2 separate regions of the Homo sapiens genome follow, and region 2 is linked to region 1. The links are contacts of gene promoters, found by promoter capture Hi-C in blood cells and fetal thymus (Javierre and others, 2016). All regions are on one chromosome and are shown on one strand. The core of a region is centred on a gene start or on the middle of the fragment in contact, and the rest is flanking DNA. Distances in the headings are between cores, read along the strand shown.

The links. The method cuts DNA at HindIII sites, captures the fragments that hold promoters and counts their contacts. A CHiCAGO score of 5 or more calls a contact.
Region 2: a fragment that was not itself captured here is called in contact with the fragment with the promoter of SDC2 in region 1 in 3 of 17 cell types (M0 macrophages, M2 macrophages and M1 macrophages); the score reaches 15.3 in M0 macrophages.

What each region holds. Positions count from the first base shown.
Region 1 is chr8:96,491,050-96,495,899 of GRCh38, forward strand. It overlaps SDC2 (syndecan 2), which reads left to right and starts at 2,764. Exons shown (of 5, transcript NM_002998.4): 1 at 2,764-3,282. The coding sequence starts at 3,223. The HindIII fragment of the contact is 13,490 bases long and covers 1-4,416 here.
Region 2 is chr8:97,561,168-97,565,986 of GRCh38, forward strand. No RefSeq gene overlaps it. Among named protein-coding and RNA genes, the nearest start is that of MTDH, 81 kb to the right of the region's middle. The HindIII fragment of the contact is 8,862 bases long and covers 1-4,819 here.

The sequences.
Region 1 (4,850 bases), core at 1,514-4,013:
TTAAACATTTCCAATTAGCAAAACACACAAACAGGCCTACATCGTTTGCGAATTTAGACAAATCCTGACTAATACCAGCGGACCTCCCCTGACTTCTGTCCCCATCCCCACTCAGCATGGGTGACCTCTTTGTAGCCAGCTCTTGTGTAAGTGCTTTTTATACTGTCAGATTATCCTTCTTGCCACAGCTGTTAATAAATCTGAACACAAGATCTTGAATATTTGTTTTCATCTCCTTAATATTGTGTCACTCAAAATGGTACCAATTCCCTTATTATATATACTCTCAATGGAGTATTTATCATCTTTAAAGAAACAAGTCACTGAGCATCTCATCAACACCAAGAGCCTTGGGGTGTGCCTTCAGGGCAGCAAACAGATAATATCCCTTCAACACGTGTATCCACTTATTCATTTTTTATCACTGTCTGCCCAAGCTGAATCAGAGAGCATTCACCACGCTTCTTGTTACATGGGTGCCCCAGTAAACAGCAATAACTGTGAGAACCAGCAAATCAGTGGAGTGCACTTCCTGTTTTACTGGAATTCCAATTTATTTGATGAATACTTAACTGTTGGGGACAATGGAGGTGTGGCCTTGCCTGAAGGCTGGCGAGTAGACGAGGCCTCTTATGAGGACAGAGCTGGTATTTTATGGCTCTTTGCATGTATTTTGCATTGCTGCTTTTCCTTTGGAGGCCTTTTTAAGAAGTCTCCCCATCTCATGAACCTCTTCAACCCACAGACTCCATCTTAAAAATAAGGGCACTAGGCTGGTGGCTCACGTGTCTAATCCCAGGACTTTGGGAGGCTGAGGCAGGCAGATCACTTGAGCCCAAGAGTTTGAGACCAGCCTGGGCAACAATGGAAAACCCTGTCTCTATAAAAAACACAAAAATTAGCTGGTGTGGTGGCCTGTGCCTGTAGTCCCAGCTACTTGGTAAGCTGAGGTGGGAGGACTGCTTGAGCCTGAGAGGTAGAGGCTACAGTGCAGGCCACTGCACTCCAGCCTGGGCAAGAATGAGACCCTGTCTCAAAAAAAAAAAAAAAAAAAAAAAAGGCTGTGGTTCATTCTTTCAAAAGCTAAGTGGAGCCCACATTGGCACAGATGCCAGCTACAGTGTCTGTGGAATCAGAAGCATCATCTGATGTTACAACTTCTGGCCTATTGCTCTTTTTCTTCTTTCTCCTTTGCCTACTCTTCTATTTCTCCATATTACCTTTTTGTTGGCCAATGCCTTAGACTTGCTCATGAGCATTTGTAGGTTTGGTAGCTGGCACACAAAACCAAAGGAATAAGTGTCTCCAAGTTTGAGTTGTAATTCTCCAGTTAAATTTCTTTCTTTGAGATTTATTACAGTAATAGGTTACTAAGACATTTAATTCTCACTGAGGGTATGACTGTATTTTATTCTAATACTGAGTTGAAAAATTACCATGGCCTCATATCTATATATCTACATTGGTGTATTTTAAAGGCTCACAACTCTTATACGGTATAAATTGAGCTTTAGAGCAAAATTTATTCAAGATAATATTTATCATGTGTCTTTATGTACCAGGAATGAGAATACAATGGTGAACAGACAGAAAAGTCTCTGGTTTCCTGTAGTGGGCATTCCAGGAGCAGAATGGCGTCATAATTCATTTACTCTATAAGTCAGAGAGAAAAATGATGGCACGAACTGCAAGGGATTTGTGTGTAAAATTTGTGACAGTAAGAAAAAGAAACTGGAAGGGAATACGCATTTGCCATGTTCTATAATATGCCACAGACATTGTAACAAAATATTTCATGTCAGCTACTTCCATTTAGGAAATACATGTTCATTATTTTCTTCAAACTAAGAATTACTTTATCCCTCTTTTCTTTGAAGTTATCTTAAATCTGTTATTATTCAGGGTCTCTATCCAACTTCTCATCAAATTACCCTATTTGTAGCTTCCAAACGTTAACACCTATCTGCTAAAATGGAGCCTATAAAAAGCCTTAGTGGCATAAACTGTGTGTGAGGGAGAAATGGTATTTAAGCCCTTAATGAAGTTAGGAGCTTTCAAACTGTTGCACTTTGGGTTTACAGGATCCTTCCTCCATGTCCCTTTTTTGGGGGTGCGGAAGGATTTGGGAGAATGGGAAACACTCTCACTATATATTTATTACATTAATTATCTTCTCTTTTAAAATGCAATTTTCATGAACTGGCGATTTATGAACACTTCACATTGCTTGAAAGCATCTTACACTTTTTTTTTCCCTCAACTCACAAAGCAGTTTCTTTCTACTGGTCGAATTCTCAAGGCAGAAAAGCTACATACGTCTCTCGTTTCTTCACTAATTGTTCTCTAGAAAAGGGAAAGTGAAGAAGGGAAAGAGAAAAGACAACGGGGAAGAAAAGAGCATAGAGGAGAGAGGAAAAGTGGGGAGAGAAAGGAAGAAAAGGACTGAGAAAACGCAGGAGCCCTGGCTTGCCGGTGAGCAGAGCCGGCGCAGCCACAGCGCGGAGCCGCGGCGCCCACTGGTCCTCGGAGCTGCCAATCGGCGTGTAATCCTGTAGGAATTTCTCCCGGGTTTATCTGGGAGTCACACTGCCGCCTCCTCTCCCCAGTCGCCCAGGGGAGCCCGGAGAAGCAGGCTCAGGAGGGAGGGAGCCAGAGGAAAAGAAGAGGAGGAGAAGGAGGAGGACCCGGGGAGGGAGGCGCGGCGCGGGAGGAGGAGGGGCGCAGCCGCGGAGCCAGTGGCCCCGCTTGGACGCGCTGCTCTCCAGATACCCCCGGAGCTCCAGCCGCGCGGATCGCGCGCTCCCGCCGCTCTGCCCCTAAACTTCTGCCGTAGCTCCCTTTCAAGCCAGCGAATTTATTCCTTAAAACCAGAAACTGAACCTCGGCACGGGAAAGGAGTCCGCGGAGGAGCAAAACCACAGCAGAGCAAGAAGAGCTTCAGAGAGCAGCCTTCCCGGAGCACCAACTCCGTGTCGGGAGTGCAGAAACCAACAAGTGAGAGGGCGCCGCGTTCCCGGGGCGCAGCTGCGGGCGGCGGGAGCAGGCGCAGGAGGAGGAAGCGAGCGCCCCCGAGCCCCGAGCCCGAGTCCCCGAGCCTGAGCCGCAATCGCTGCGGTACTCTGCTCCGGATTCGTGTGCGCGGGCTGCGCCGAGCGCTGGGCAGGAGGCTTCGTTTTGCCCTGGTTGCAAGCAGCGGCTGGGAGCAGCCGGTCCCTGGGGAATATGCGGCGCGCGTGGATCCTGCTCACCTTGGGCTTGGTGGCCTGCGTGTCGGCGGAGTCGGTGAGTGGGCCAGGCGGAGGATGCGCGCGCCGTTTAGGGTGTTTGAAGCTACGAGAGGAGCCCGCAGGGAATAGGGGAGCGCCACCTGGGGAACCCCCAGTCCCCAAGTATACACCGGAGATCCGCTGGGACAAATGCGCTCGTCCGGTCACCCTTTCCCCCTCTTCCCTTCCTCAGAAAAGCGCTGCTCGCTGGCGTTACCCCGCGGTCCGCGGGAATGGGGGCACCGAGAATTGCGGTTTGGTCTAGCCGCAGAGGCCCCTGAAGTCACTCCCAACTTCTTCGCCCTCGGCGGGTCTTGCTGCGTGGTCTGGGAAGGACGGAGGGGAAAGGGTGGCAGGAGGGGGGAGCCTGGGTCGGGCCCGCGAGGGAACGGCTCCACTCCGCGCGCTCCTCGAGACCAGGGATGACCTGGAAACTTCGGGGTCCCTTCCTCCGCACACCATCCCCCCCGCGCCAGCTTTCCTGTTTGACTGCATGCAAGTTCTGGGGAGATGGGGGCCAGATTTAAGAGACCCGCGAGTGTCCAGAGAGAAAAGTTTGCAAAAGTTCTTTTGTTTGATGCTCCCTGCGGCTAGGGCGAGGTAACCGACACTACGTGGAATCGCAGTAGGCGATCCCTCAAGGGGATACTGGGGGAGGCACGGAACGCGTCCGAAAATGCTGGGACGCCGGCCACTGGATTCCCAGTCCTGCGGCGACCCCCTCCTCGTTGAGGGGTGGAGGTTGCACCGCGGGGCGTCAGGGACGGGAGGACATTTTCATAGGAGTTACACGGGAGTGCCGCAAGCAGGGCGAGGCGGGGTACGTGTGACACGGCGCTCGGCTTCGGGTCGCCTGGCCGCTGGGGGACAGAGGCTTCCCTCCCGCCACGCTCGCCCTCTCTGGCCCTGGCGGGGCGCTTCTGGGGCCGGGAGGAGTCTCGTCTCCGGCGGAGCGCCTGCCGGCACCCAGCTTCCCTCCCCCGCCCTGGCGGTGGGAACTTGATTTCTCCTTTTGGTCGCGCTTCGGGGGCTGGAGCTTGTTTCCCCACGTCGCCCAATGAGCGCCCTCTAAAGGGAACTGCCTCCTTGGCCTCCTCTCGTCCGCAGCTGCCTCCACCTGGGCGCCAGGAGCTCTGTCGGGCCAGGTGGAAGCTTGAGCACCCCAGATTTCGTCTGCAGCCTCAGTGCCCTCTGGGGTCTCAGGGAGTGCGGCTGTTTCTGGCCCTTCTGGTTCCCCACGTCCTCTCCCTTTGCCATTTAATAACGTGTCAATTTCTAATTAATTGAATGGTCTTTTCAAAGACAAATTATATCATCTTAAGGTCTTTTAGGTAGTTTTATGAGTTTGAGTCTCCCTCCCCCCCTTTTTTGTGCTGAGGCTAATTTAGGACTGGGAAACCTCTTTGGCATCGAGCGGCAGATGGACATTTTTAATCAGTGTGGGAGCCTCTGTGTGTGCTAGCAGATCCCCATACGTTCTTTGTGGTTGGAGAGCATGTAGAATTGGAAACTGTACAGACTACATGAGTATTTTGGGTGCTCAGGTTGTAAAATAGAACTCCCAGCCTTATCAGTGTTTCCCTT
Region 2 (4,819 bases), core at 2,264-4,763, 1.1 Mb after region 1:
AGAGTCGATAGCATCGGGAGATATACCTAATGCTAAATGACGAGTTGATGGGTGCAGCACACCAACATGGCACATGTATACATATGTAACAAACCTGCACGTTGTGCACATGTACCCTAAAACTTAAAGTATAATAATAATTTAAAAAAAAAGAAACTAAAAAAAAAAAAAGAGTCATGGGGCCGGGTGCGGTGGCTCACGCCTATAATCCCAGCACTTTGGGAGGCCAAGGCAGGCAGATCACCTGAGGTCAAGAGTTGAAGACCACCTGGGCAACGGGGTGAAACCCTGTCTCTACTAAAATATATATATATATACACACACATGTATATATACACATTATATATACACATATATATACACATATATGTATATATTTATATATTTTTATATATACACGTATATATATTTATATATTTTTATATATATACACATATACGTGTATATACGTGTGTACATACACGTGCGTATATATACACATACACACATATATACACACAAATACACACACACACACACACACACACACACACACACACACACAAAAATGGTGGTGGGCACCTGTAATCCCGGCTACTTGGGAGGCTGAGGCAGGAGAATCGCTTGAACCCAGGAGGCAGAGGTTGCAGTGAGTTGAGATCGTGCCATTGCACTCCAGCCTGGGCGACAAGAGCAAGACGCTGTATCAAAAAAAAAAAAAGAAGAAGAAGAAGAGTCATGGGGACTTCATAATTGTGCTCAGGTACATGTTTCAGAAGCAAAAATAGTGGATTAAGTGAGGGGTTTATTTCTCTCAGGTAACCAGGAAACCGAGTACTGGGTAAGCCAGCCCTAATGGGGCTGCTCACAGAACAGGCTCCTGCTACCTCCCCACTCTGTCATCTTTGCAAGTGGTCATAAGATGGCTGGGGCATCTTTAGGCATCATGTCACCATTTCAGGCAGGAAGGAGGAGAAAGGAGAAGGCAAAGGGCTCACACCCGCTGAGTCTGCCTAATTTTCCTAGGAAAACAGTAGCTTTCCCAGAACCTCATGGAGTGGAAGATATAAACCTTTCATTCACAGGCATTGGCCAGACTATCCACATGACTTTGAATTGTTGATGGGCCCAACACCATCCCAAAGCAAATTGGAGCTATAACAAGCAAGGGAAACGAGGCGAGTGGAAATTGAGTAGGCCACTGGCTGCATATGTCAAAAGAAGGAGAAAAGTATTAGGACACAGATTCGGAGGTCCTCATGCTAGGGCATGCAGCAGATGGCTGTCTACGAGGAAGTCCTCACCAGACAGCAACAAGAAATCTGCTAACCAACCTCCTCCTTATGGTGGACGCAGCGCTCACTGCAAGGGAGTCTTGGCTTCTTTTGACAGCCTGCATAAGTGAGCCATTCATCAATGGCTGCTGAGCCAGCAGAGCATCACACCCTCTAGGTGCCAACTCTGCACCTGCTGGAGTCTGGTCCCTCATCCCAGCCCCTCTGACCTCCCTCCCAATTCTCTTCCTCTCCATCTTGACCTCTCCTCCAGCTCTGAGAGTCCCTTGCCCTTCCTCACTTCCCAAATCTCTAGTCTGCGCACAGGAATCTGCTCTTTCTGAAGCCTGAGCTTCTGAAACATAGAACCCAAGAATACCCTTCTTTCTTTGTCCCTCTGTTTTCTCTGTCACCTTTCTCTAAGGCAGTGAACACAGAATGCCATACTCACTGAATGCATAAAGGAACCAGGGGTATAAGGAAGTTCCAGGAACAACAACAAATTAGATTTCGGCCAGTGGCAGCTTGGTGGCTCACACCTGTAATCCTAGCACTTTGGGAGGCTGAGGCAAGCAGATCACTTGAGCCCAGGAGTTCGAGACCACCCTGGAAAACATAGTGAAACCCCATCTCTACAAAAAAATACAAAAATTAGCCAGGCATGGTGGCACACACCTGTAGTGCCAGCTACTCAGGAGCTGATGTAGGAGGATCACCTGAGCCTGGGGAGGTTGAGGCTGCAGTGAGCTGTGATCATGCCTCTGCACTCCAGCCTAGGCAACAAGGTGAGACCCTGCCTAGAAAAAGAAAAGAAAAGAGAAAAGTAGATGTTAAAATATCATTCCTCTGCTCTTCATGTGAAATCTTACCCAGAAACCCAAAATGTAAAACATAAAAACCAGAGTATGGTTAAGGGGTGGAAAGAATGGGAGATGAGAGGACCCCAGGGCCCTCCCCCAGAGGCCTGAGAGAAGTCTGCCAAGGAAAGTTTGAAAACTCACCAAACTGGGAAATCTCTGCAGTCTCTTCCAGCTTGAAAGTTCTACAATTCAGTGTTAAGGAGCAAACACTTGGCCTAATTCCCAAACTTGAGAATAGTCACGCATACTAAGTGTGACAGGTGAAGTAAATGATGATTAATGTGGGTGTGTTGCAGGCTTTTTTTTGACCCTGATCCTACTCCTTGGCCTGCTTCAGGCCCTTCAGCTTCCCCACCCTCCAAGCAGGGTTTTTTCTGTGTGTGTGATAAGGAATCAGTATGGAAAGATGAGAAACACAAGAGTCGCCCGGTCAAAAATTAAGCAGAAAAATAATGCATGACAGCAAATCCATACCCACATAAATACCAAAAAGAACTGGAAACAGGGACTCAAACAAACACTTGTACACACATGTTTATAGCAGCACTATCCATGATAGCCAAAAACAAGAAACAACCCAAAAGCCCATCTACAGATGAGTGGATAAACAAACTGTGGTATTTTACATACCGTGGAATATTATTCAGTCATCAAAAGGAAGGAAGTGCTGATACATGCTGGATGAGCCTCAAAAACATTAAGCTGCTTGAAAGAAACAAGACACAAAAGGCCACATATCGTATGGTTCCATTTATAGGAAGTGTCCAGAATAGTTAAATCCAAAGAGAGAGGTGGCAAATTGTTGGTTGCCAGGGGCTCAGGGAGGGGAGAATGAGGAGTAACTGCTTAATGGGCATGGGGTTGTATTTGGGGAGAATAAAATGTTTCAGAACTAGATAGAGGTGATGGTTCTACAATATTAAGAATGTGTTAAATGACACTGAATTTTTCACTTTAAAATGGTTAATTTTAGGTTTTGTGAATTTTATCTCAATTTTTTAAAAATCAGTTGAGCAAAAAGAAAAAGAAGAGATGGCACCAGGGAATGTTTGCAGAGAGAGTGTTTGAGGGCAGTGGCTGTGGAAAGAGCAACTGCAGGTATGAGTGGAGTGGAAGGGGAGGGCACTGTGGGAGATGTTCTGCCCTCTCCCCACGCTGAAGTGCAGGTAAAGAACTCCAGCACTGGCGTGGTTTGGAGCAGAAGCTCTGGAACCAGACTGCCTGGTTTTAAATCCCCATCCTATTACTTATTAACAGTAACCTTCGGCAAGTTGCTTAACCTCTCCATACCTTGTTTCTTCATTTGTAACATGGAGATAATAATAATACATAACTAAGGATTGTTTAAAAGGGTTAAATAAATTCTTTCATATAAATCACTTGGGATAGTGTAGACCATCTCCTCAATATTCGCTTCAGCCTTCAGTGAATGTTACCCAGTGTTCTTTTCTCATGTGGTTTCATAGGTCTTCCTCTTTGACTAGACCATTCCAGAATTGAACCATGTCCACTGTCCACTGTGCTTTGTAAATCTTCTATCAGTGTTTCCCTATTCTGCAGAATGGTTTTTGAGACAGGGTCCCACTCTGTCACCAAGGCTAGAGTACAGTGGCACAGTCACAGCTCACTGCAGCCTCCACCTCCTGGTCTCAGGTGATCCTCCCACCTAAACCTCCTGAGTATCTGAGACTACAGTTGCCTGCCACCACACCCTGTGAATTTTTGTAATTTTTAGAGACGGGGTTTCGCCGCATTGCCCAGGCTGGTCTTGAACTCTGGCACTCAAGCAATCTGCCTGCCTCAGCCTCCCAAAGTGCTAGAATTACAGGCTTGAGCCACTGTACCCAGACTGCAGGTGTTTTAATACAAACTTTGAAATAAGTATAAATAATATCCTTTTCAAGGAAAGCTGCCTTTACATCTCAGGTTCTAAAGAACTAAATCCCCTAGTTTCTTTGACTGCCATAACAAAGTACCACAAACTTGGCTTAGAACAACAGAAATTTCTTCTGCCCCAGTACTTGGGGCTAGAAGTCTGGCTACAGCCACCAGGCTCTTTCCCAGCTGTCACCCAAGGCGTCAGCAGGGTCATGCTCCCTCCAAGCCTCTCGTGGAAAGCCCTTTCTAGTCTCTTCCAGTTTCTGGCAGCCTCCCGGCCTTCCTTGGCTTGTGGCAGCAGAATGTTTGCCTCTGTCCTCACATGGCTGTTATTCTGTCCTCACATGGCCGGGACAGGGGTGCGGCGCAGAGAGCCCCACGTCCTGGGAAACGGGGTGCTGCTGGAAAGGCAGCTGCACCCTCAACCCTCACGTGGGGAACCTGACGCTAAACCATTCGTAGCCCACCTGCTTCTGGGTAGGGGTTTCATACGTAGCAGAGCAGCTACCTGCTGAGATCTATTGAAAGTCAGCCCTTGACACAAGGGTTTGTAAAAGGAAAAATAAATAAATAAATAAATATATAAATAAATAAATAAAATGAAATAAATGAAAAAAGAAAAAAGACTTCAACGAATCTCCTAGGGGACACAATTCAACTCGTAAACTTCCCAATCCCTATAGCTCTCCTAATGCATTCATAAGCTCCACCGCCACACTTCTATGGGCTTCCCAGACTAACCAGCTGCTGGAACAATCTTTTGTTTGGCTTTGTTTTGTTTTTTAGATACAGGTTCTCACTCTATGGTCCAGGTTGGAGTGCAGTGGC